2 separate regions of the Homo sapiens genome follow, and region 1 is linked to region 2. Evidence: promoter capture Hi-C in human tissues and cell types (Jung and others, 2019). All regions are on one chromosome and are shown on one strand. The core of a region is centred on a gene start or on the middle of the fragment in contact, and the rest is flanking DNA. Distances in the headings are between cores, read along the strand shown. Region 1 holds the start of MORC3 (MORC family CW-type zinc finger 3). Region 2 holds the start of RIPPLY3 (ripply transcriptional repressor 3).

The links. Contacts are between HindIII fragments. The study calls those that stand out against the background at their distance.
Region 1: a contact is called between the fragment with the promoter of MORC3 here and the fragment with the promoter of RIPPLY3 in region 2, in 1 of the 25 tissues and cell types used here (dorsolateral prefrontal cortex).

The regions. Positions count from the first base shown.
Region 1 is chr21:36,317,652-36,321,782 of GRCh38, forward strand. It overlaps MORC3 (MORC family CW-type zinc finger 3), which reads left to right and starts at 2,546. Exons shown (of 17, transcript NM_015358.3): 1 at 2,546-2,652. The coding sequence starts at 2,614. RefSeq lists a silencer at 2,670-3,129. The HindIII fragment of the contact is 28,282 bases long and covers 1-4,131 here.
Region 2 is chr21:37,003,890-37,008,053 of GRCh38, forward strand. It overlaps RIPPLY3 (ripply transcriptional repressor 3), which reads left to right and starts at 2,813. Exons shown (of 4, transcript NM_018962.3): 1 at 2,813-2,987. The coding sequence starts at 2,884. RefSeq lists an enhancer at 2,154-2,654 and a silencer at 2,878-2,987. The HindIII fragment of the contact is 12,344 bases long and covers 1-4,164 here.

The DNA.
Region 1 (4,131 bases), core at 1,296-3,795, 690 kb before region 2:
TATGTCATCAATTCATCACTATCCTACTGCACTTCATCAATTCATCACTATCCTACTGCACTCTCTGTCTCCAATGCCAGGCTCTAATTACACTTGTCCCATATCAGTTCCTCAAACATGAGCAGCCCTTTCCAAATCTCTAGGCCTCTGCTGTTGTTTTTCTGGAATTGCAGAGTTGTGTCTCCCTCGAATGCTGTCCCTCTGAATTCTTTGGAAATTCCTCTCTATCCTGGTTACTTACTTCTTTGATCGGGCATGGTGGCTCACGACTATAATTCCAGCACTTCGGGAGGCCAAAGAAGGTGGAGCACTTGAGCCCAGGAGTTCAAGGCCAGCATGGGCAACACAGCAAGACCCCTTTCTCTATAAAAAATATTTTAAAAATCAGCTGAGTGTGGTGGCACACACCCGTTGTCCCAACTACTTGGGAGACTAAGGCGGGAGGATTGCTTGAACCCAAGAGTTCAAGGTTGCAGTGAGCTATGATTGTGCCACTGTACTCCAGCCTGGGCAACAGAGTCTCTAGAAAAAGAAAAAAATCCAGGCCAGGCGCGGTGGCTCACGCCTGTAATCCCAGCACTTTGGGAGGCAGAGGCGGGCGGATCACGAGGTCAGGAGATCGAGACCACGGTGAAACCCCGTCTCTACTAAAAATACAAAAAATTAGCTGGGCGCAGTGGCGGGCGCCTGTAGTCCCAGCTACTCGGGAGGCTGAGGCAGGAGAATGGCGTGAACCCGGAAGGCGGAGCTTGCAGTGAGCCGAGATCATTCCACTGCACTCCAGCCTGGGCGACAGAGCGAGACTCGGTCTCCAAAAAAAAAAAAAGAAAAAAAAATCCATTCTCTTTTGTTTCTTTTTCCTTTTTGAGACGAGAGTCTCGCTCTGTTGCCCAGACTGAGTGCAGTGGTGAGAACATGGCTCATTACAGCCTCAGTCTCCCAGGGTCAAGTAGTCCTCCCCACCTCAGCCTCCCAAGTAGCTGGAACCACAGGCGTGCGCCCCCAAGCACAATTAATTTTTTTTTTTTTTTGAGATGGAGTTTCGCTCTTGTTGTCCCGGCTGGAGTGCAGTGGTGTGATCTTGGCTCACCGCAACCTCCACCTCCTGGGTTCAAGTGATTCTCCTGCCTCAGCCTCTCCAGTAGCTGGGATTACGGGCATGTGCCACCACACCCGGCTAATTTTGTATTTTTAGTAGAGATGGGGTTTCGCCATGTTGGTCAGGCTGGTCTCAAACACCCGACCTCAAGTGATCTGCCCGCCTTAGCCTCCCAAGGTGCTGGGATTACAGGTGTGAGCCACCACGCCCTGCCAGCTAATTCAATTTTTTTTTTGTAAAGATGAGGTCTCCTCGTGTTGCCCAGGCTCGTCTCGAACTCCTGGGTTCAAGAGACCCTCGCAATGTAGCCTCTCAAAGTGCTGAGATTACAGACATGAGCCACTGCACCCAGCCAATTTCTCTTTCTAAAAATAATTAATTTTTTTGAGACAGTCTCACTCTGTCGCCCAGGCTGGAGTACAGTGGCGCGATCTGGGCTCACTGCAACCTCCTTGTCCTGGGTTCACCCACTTCTCCTGCCTCAGCCCCCCGAGTAGCTGGGATTACAGGCGCCCACTAATATGCCCAGCTAATTTTTGTATTTTTAGTAGAGATGGGGTTTCACCATGTTGGCCAGGCTGGTCTTGAACCCCTATCAAGTGAACCCCCAACCTCGACCTCCCAATGTGTTGGGATTATAGGCATGAGCCACTGCACCGGCCTTATGCCTTTAGGACTCTTATTTATTTATTTTGAGACGGAGTTTCACTCTTGTTGCCCAGGGTGGAGTGCAATGGCGCAATCTCGGCTCATTGCAACCTCCGCCTCCTGGGTTCAAGCATTCTCCTGCTTCAGCCTTCCGAGTAGCTGGGATTACAGGCATGTACCACCACGCCCGGCTAATTTTGTATTTTTAGTAGAGATGGGATTTCTCCATGTTGGTCAGGCTGGTCTCGAACTCCCGAAGTCAGGTGATCCGCCCGCCCACCTCGGCCTCCCAAAGTGCTGGGATTACAAGCGTGAGCTACCGCGCCCGGCCCCAGAACTCTTTTTTTTTTTTTTAAATCATGAGTTAGATTGATAGTTTTCAGGGCAAATCCAAACAGTCTACATTAATTTCCGTCTTTATTTCGTTAAGGTTTCACATGGACACTGGTGGATATGGAATGGCTTTTTTCTGCGCAATTCACATCCGACCAGGTCAAGTGACTGGAGTTCACCGGTCTCGGGTATACCGCATCTCGCGCCAGGCTTCAAACTCTAGATCCCCGAGTCTCGAGCTCCAGCTGGGTGTCGAGACGGGTACGGGCCGGCCGCGCCTCGCGCATGCGCCCTAGGCCCGCAGGGCCCCGCGCTGGAAGCTCAGCTCCCACTGTACCCTGCTTTAACCAGTCAGGCAATTCATCTTCCCCAAGCTCCCAATTCGGCATTGCCTGGAGGCGGAAGTGGGTGGGAGGGGCCAGACGTGCGCCCCTCCCCGGAAGTGGGCGGTACCCATAGGGCTCCACAGTCGTTCCGCCACCTCCCAGTCGGGTTGCGGCGGAGGCCGTTCCTGGCTTTGTAGCTCGCTCAAGATGGCGGCGCAGCCACCCCGCGGGATACGCCTCAGCGCGGTGAGCAGCCGCGAGGGGTGGAGCGGGCCGTGTCCCAGGAGGGCGGGCGGGCAAGCGAAGGGGGGCCGGCAGTGGGCGGTGGCGGCTTGTGGGGCCGACGCGGCGGCGGGGGCTGCGGCGGGGCCCGGGGAGGGGGCGGCCATCTCGCTCCCGTCGGCGGAACAGCTCGGCTGCGGGCCGGGCTGCGTTCCGTCGCCTCTGCATTGTGTTTCTGTTTTGCTTCGGGGCGGGCCAGGGTCGCGGCTCCTCCTCCCAGCTCCCTCCTAGTCTCCCAGCAGCTGTCGTCCGCGGGCGAGGCCTCGGCGGGAGATCGGTCTGCTCTCGGGGCCGCGGGGCCCCTGACCCTCTTCTGTCCGCTGGGCGTCGTGGTGGGAGGGAGCGGGTTCCGCGTCCAGAAACGCCGGCGGCCTCGACGTCCCGGGGGCGGGGGGACGGGGCTGCGGGCCTGCCTGCGGGCGAGTGGAGTCAGGATGAGTGTGCCTGATGCCTGTCAGTGCCTGCAGCTTCCTTGGCAGTGGAAGCCTTGGGGCCCAGACCCTAGATCGCTGAGCTCGAGCTCTCCTCTTTATCCCGCGTTGCGTCTGTTTTGGGGCGTTTCGAGTTCTTGGAAACCCTGTGAACATTTCTTGTATCTTAAATCGTAGGGAGCGGTCACACAAGATAACTTGAAATCTCACGTCCAGGAAATGTGGGCGTGGCTTCCCCACCTGATTATCCTAAAAAACTTTTCTACCTTGTGAGCGCAGTTGATGTTATGCTGAAATGTTCCTCTTTTCTGGAGGTTGTTGACTTTTGCCAAAGAATGACTGCCCTAGTGCCACTAATTTTAACATTCGAATGGGTAGTGACTCCTTGGGGTACAAACACGTAGTGAATAATTGGTGCATTGCTCTGGGACTTTCATTCGTTTAGGCAGATTCTAACACCTGGTTTTGACGGACTTTAAATTTTTTCTAGTCCGATATTTGTGAAATGATATTTGCTTTTACTTGCGTTTCCTTGACTGTTTGTGTTGTTGAGCTCTTCGCATGTATTAGTCTTTGTGGTTTTTTGTTTTGTTTTTTTGAATTGCCTATTCATATCCTTTGACCATTTTCTGTTTTTCTTTTGGGAGGATCTTTATTGATTTGTAAGAGTTCTTTACGTATTCTGGATAAAGGTCCATCCTTTCGTTATGTAACTAGCTTATTGAGTGAGCTAGGCTTTAGTAGTTTGAAAATAGAGGACAATTTTATTCTTTTTTTCTTTTTTTTTTTTTTAACCACTGAGTGTAAACATTAATTATTCCCCACTTGTGTGAATCTGGGTTGACTAACGCTTTCCCATTAGCTTAAGGTATTGTAAAGTCTGGCCTTACCTAGTTTAAAATCTCTATTCTCTCTCCCTCCCTTTTCCCCCTCTCTTTCCCCTATCTCCTTTCCCCACTTCTCTCTCCTTCCTCTCTCGAGGTTGAGTCTTGTTCAGGCCCAGAAACCTGTA
Region 2 (4,164 bases), core at 1,563-4,062:
TTCATTTTTGTTGTGCTTTTTTTGAGACAGGGTCTTAGGGTCTTGCTCTGTGGCCCAACATGGAGTGCAGTGGCATGATCATGGCTCACTGCAGCCTGCAACTCCTGGGTTCAAACAGTCCTCCCACCTCAGCCTCCTGGGTAGCTGGGACCACAAACATGTGTCACCACACCCGGCCTGGGTGAACATTTTTATGGCACACAATACACCTTATCAAACTTTTTCATTGCATTGCCACCAGCTACCTAGAAGACACTCATTTAAAAACATCCACACCTAGCCAGGCGTGGTGGTGTACACCTGTAGTCCTAGCTACTTGGGAGGCTGAGGTGGGAGGATCATTTGAGCCTGGAAGGTTGAGGCTGCAGTGAGCCGTGATCATGCCACTGCACTCCAACCTGGGCAACAGGGCAAGACTCTGTCTCAAAAAACAAACAAACAAAAAACACAACGAAAACACCCCTTCTGCACCCAGTTGCCCAGTGTTCTTTCATTTTCTTTTCTTTTTTTAAAAAATTATATATATATATATTTGAGAAAAATAACAGCGTCTCACTCTGTGGCCCAGGCTGGGCTGCAGTGGTGTGATCATGTCTTACTGCAGCCTCAACTTCCTCGAGCTCAGGTAATCCTCCCACCTCAGCCTCCTGAGTAGCTGGGACCACAGGCCCACTCCACCACGCCTGGTTAATTTTTGTATTTTTGTAGAGACGGGGTTTCACCACTCCGGCCAGGCTGGTCTGGAACTCTTGACCTCAAGTGATCTGCCTGCCTCTGCTTCCCAAAGTGTGCAGATTACAGGATTGAGCCACCGCGCCCTGCCCAGTGTTCTTGTAAAACCCCATTCTGCATTTAGATTAAATATGGTACCTTATTGTTGCAATATGGCCCACTAATGTTCTTTGCCTCCTTCTAGCCTCCTCCCATTAATTCCCCCCTCTTAAATGTTTGCCTTTATTTAGATTTAATTATTGTTGCTCAAAATCTTAATTAAAAAAATGTGAAAACACTTTAATGTCTGAAGTTCTTCGATTTTTTTTTTTTTTTTTTTTTTGAGACAGAGTCTGGCTCTTGTTGCCCAGGCTAGAGTGCACTGGCGCGATCTCGGCTCACTGCAACTTCTGCCTCCCGAGTTCAAGCGATTCTCCTGCCTCAGCCTCCCAAGTAGCTGGGATTACAGGCACCCGCCACCACACCCGGCTATTTTTTTGTATTTTTCTTAGTGGATACGGGGTTTCATCATGTTGGCCAGGCTGGTCTCAAACTCCCGACCTCAAGTGATCCACCCGCCTGGGCCTCCCAAAGTGCTGGGATTACAGGCATGAACCACCGCGCCTTGCGGAAGTTCTTCGATTTTTTTTTTTTTTTTTGGAAAGGGAATCTCTCTCTGTCTCCCACGCTGGAGTGCAGTGGCACACTCTCGGCTCACTGCAACCTCCGCCTCCCAGATTCAAGCCATTCTCCTGCCTCAGCCTCCCAAGTAGCTGGGATTACAGGAGCCTGCCACCACGCCCGGCTAATTTTTTTATTTTTAGTAGAGACGGGTTTCACCATATTGGCCAGACTGATCTCGAACTCCTGACTTCAAGTGATCCATCCACCTGCCTCGGTCTCCCAAAGTGCTGGGATTACAGGTGAGAACCACCGCGCCTGGCCTAGTTCTTCGATTTTTTAACATCCATCACAGTAACTTAAATTATATAAAGTAACTACCCCTGAGGAGCCCGGGGTAGTTGAAGGCCCTCCAGCGCCTTCGGTGTTCTGTCGCAGTGCTCTACGTGTGAAACCGCTTTCTCCCACCCTGGCCGTGCGCTGGTGATGGTGGCAGCGGCGCTCCAGCGACGCCCGGGGAAGTGTCCCCAGGGTCGGGCAAGGTCGCTTCTGCTGGTCGGGAGGCCCTTTCTAAGCCTGGCTGGGGCTAACCGAAGGAGAAGCCCGCCGCTCCAGGCTTTATTAAAAATTCGCATTCTTTCCAAGGCCGCCATCGGTGGGAAGGGTGCGCTCGTAGCACCCCTCTTGCTCGGTTCCATTCCTGGCCTTCTGTCTCCTGGAAGGGTCGCCGCGCCCCACCCCACCCGCTTCGCCACGGGTTCGAGCCCTGGCGTCGGGGCGTCCGGGAGCCCACTGTCCAGCACCGAAGGCAAGGCCGGTGCACGCGGACCCGAGGATTCGGTAGATGTCCCCGAAGACCCGCTGCCGCTCTAAGGCGGTGGAAGCGAGATTCTCCGGAAACCCAGGGAATCCGATGCTCGCACAGGACCAAAGCCCGAGGCCGCGGGGACCACAGAGGGACGGAGAAGCCGGGACTCCTCACATCCCACATCCGGCAGGGGAAGCCCAGCAGGTGAGCGCAGGTCCCCCCAGTCCCCGAGGGAGTGCGCCCGACGGAAACGCCCCTAGCCCGCGGGCCTCGCTTTCCTCTCCCGGGTTCCTGGGTCACTTCCCGCTGTCTCCAGCCCGAGCTCGTGGCCCCAATCCCTGGTACCTCCATCCTCTGGTCACCCCTTCTCTGGTGCCCCCTCCCCGACTTTTCTTTGTCCCGTCCCCACCCTTGCCCGGGCCTGCCGGACCCCCCTCCTTGACACCCGGCGCCACCTCCTTGAGCTTTTCTCGTCTCCTCCCCATCCCCGGCTCCCTGGTCCCCTCCCGGAACTTCTCTGGTCCCCTCCGCTCCTCCGACCCGGGCTTTTCCTTCGTACCCTGCGGCCCCCTCCGCACCCCTCACGGAGCTCCTCGGGTCCTGCCCCCTCCCAGCGCTTGCCCGCGCCGCCCCGCCCCCGTTTTTAAACCTGGCGCGCGGGTAGGTGAGCGCGTTAGCCCGAGTGGATCTAGGCGCGCTCGTAGGCCGGCGCCGCAGCAAGGGGCGCGGGCTCCGCCGGCACCATGGAGCCCGAAGCGGCGGCCGGAGCCCGGAAGGCGCGGGGGCGCGGCTGTCACTGCCCCGGGGACGCTCCCTGGAGGCCTCCGCCACCGCGCGGGCCGGAGAGGTGAGGGTGGCCCCGCGCCCCGGTGGACGCGCTGAGAGGCGTGCGCGGTGGCGGTGCGGGGAGCGCAGCGAGCGGGAGGCTGGGGCGCTGCTGAACCCCCGATCCCCAGCGGAGCTCCGGAGCTCGACGGCGACGCCAAGCAAGCTCCTGAGCCGGCAGCCGGGTTCCCGGGAGGGGCGCTCAGTTCTCCGGTTCCAACGCACAGCTCTGAAGTGCGGAGGCCCAGGATGTAGCTGGCCAGGAAAGGGGCCGACGCTTCCGTGTAGAGGAGATCTCAGTTAGCCAGCCGGGGACACTGCAGTCTCGGGCTCCTAAGCCAGCCTTGCAAAGGCAATCTCTCACCTTGCTACTTTCTCGGTAGCCGTTTCTGTTGTCCCTGGATTGGGGGCTCGGCGTTCGCTGTCCCTGGGCACCAACCCTTTTAAAGACAGTAACGTTGTAGGAAATCAAATTAGCCAGGGAGGTAGGGAAGGGACCGGGTAGGCCGGATGGGCCAGGTAGCCAGGCAGGAGAAAGATTCCCTCTTTTTTTTTTTTTTTTTTTTTTTTTTGAGACAGGGTCTCACTGTGTCGCCCAGGCTGGAGTGCAATGGCGTGATCTCGGCTCACGGGAACCTCCGCCTCCCGGGTTCAAGCGATTTTCCTGCCTCAGCCTCCTGAGTAGCAGGGATTACACGCGCCTGCCACCACGCCCGGCTAATTTTTGTATTTTTAGTAGAGACTGGGTTTCGCCATGTTGGCCAGGCTGGTCTCGAACTCCTGACCTCGAGTGATCCAGTAACCTCAGCCTCCCAAAGTGCTGGGATTACAGGTGTGAGCCACCGCGCCCAGCCCCCTTTTTTTGTTTGTTTGTTTTTCATCCTACAACTCTGTAAAATCATCTCTGTAGAATCAATCTCCTTCCGTGACCAAGGTGGTGTGATTGAAATTAACCGGGGACAAAGTAGACAGCTATAGTTGGGGAACCCCGAATTGAACAATTCAGCCAGGATTTGCAGGGAGAGAAATCTCTCAACTAATGGGTTCCCTGATAATTGTGTGAGATTCGGGACCTCCCTTCTCAAAGCTTAACTGGAGACAGAGAACTGGGGACGTAGCAGGAGAGAAAAAACACAAATGACAGTAATTTATCCACAGCCCTGAGAACTCCAGGGAAAGTTCCTGGGGGGTCCGGTGCC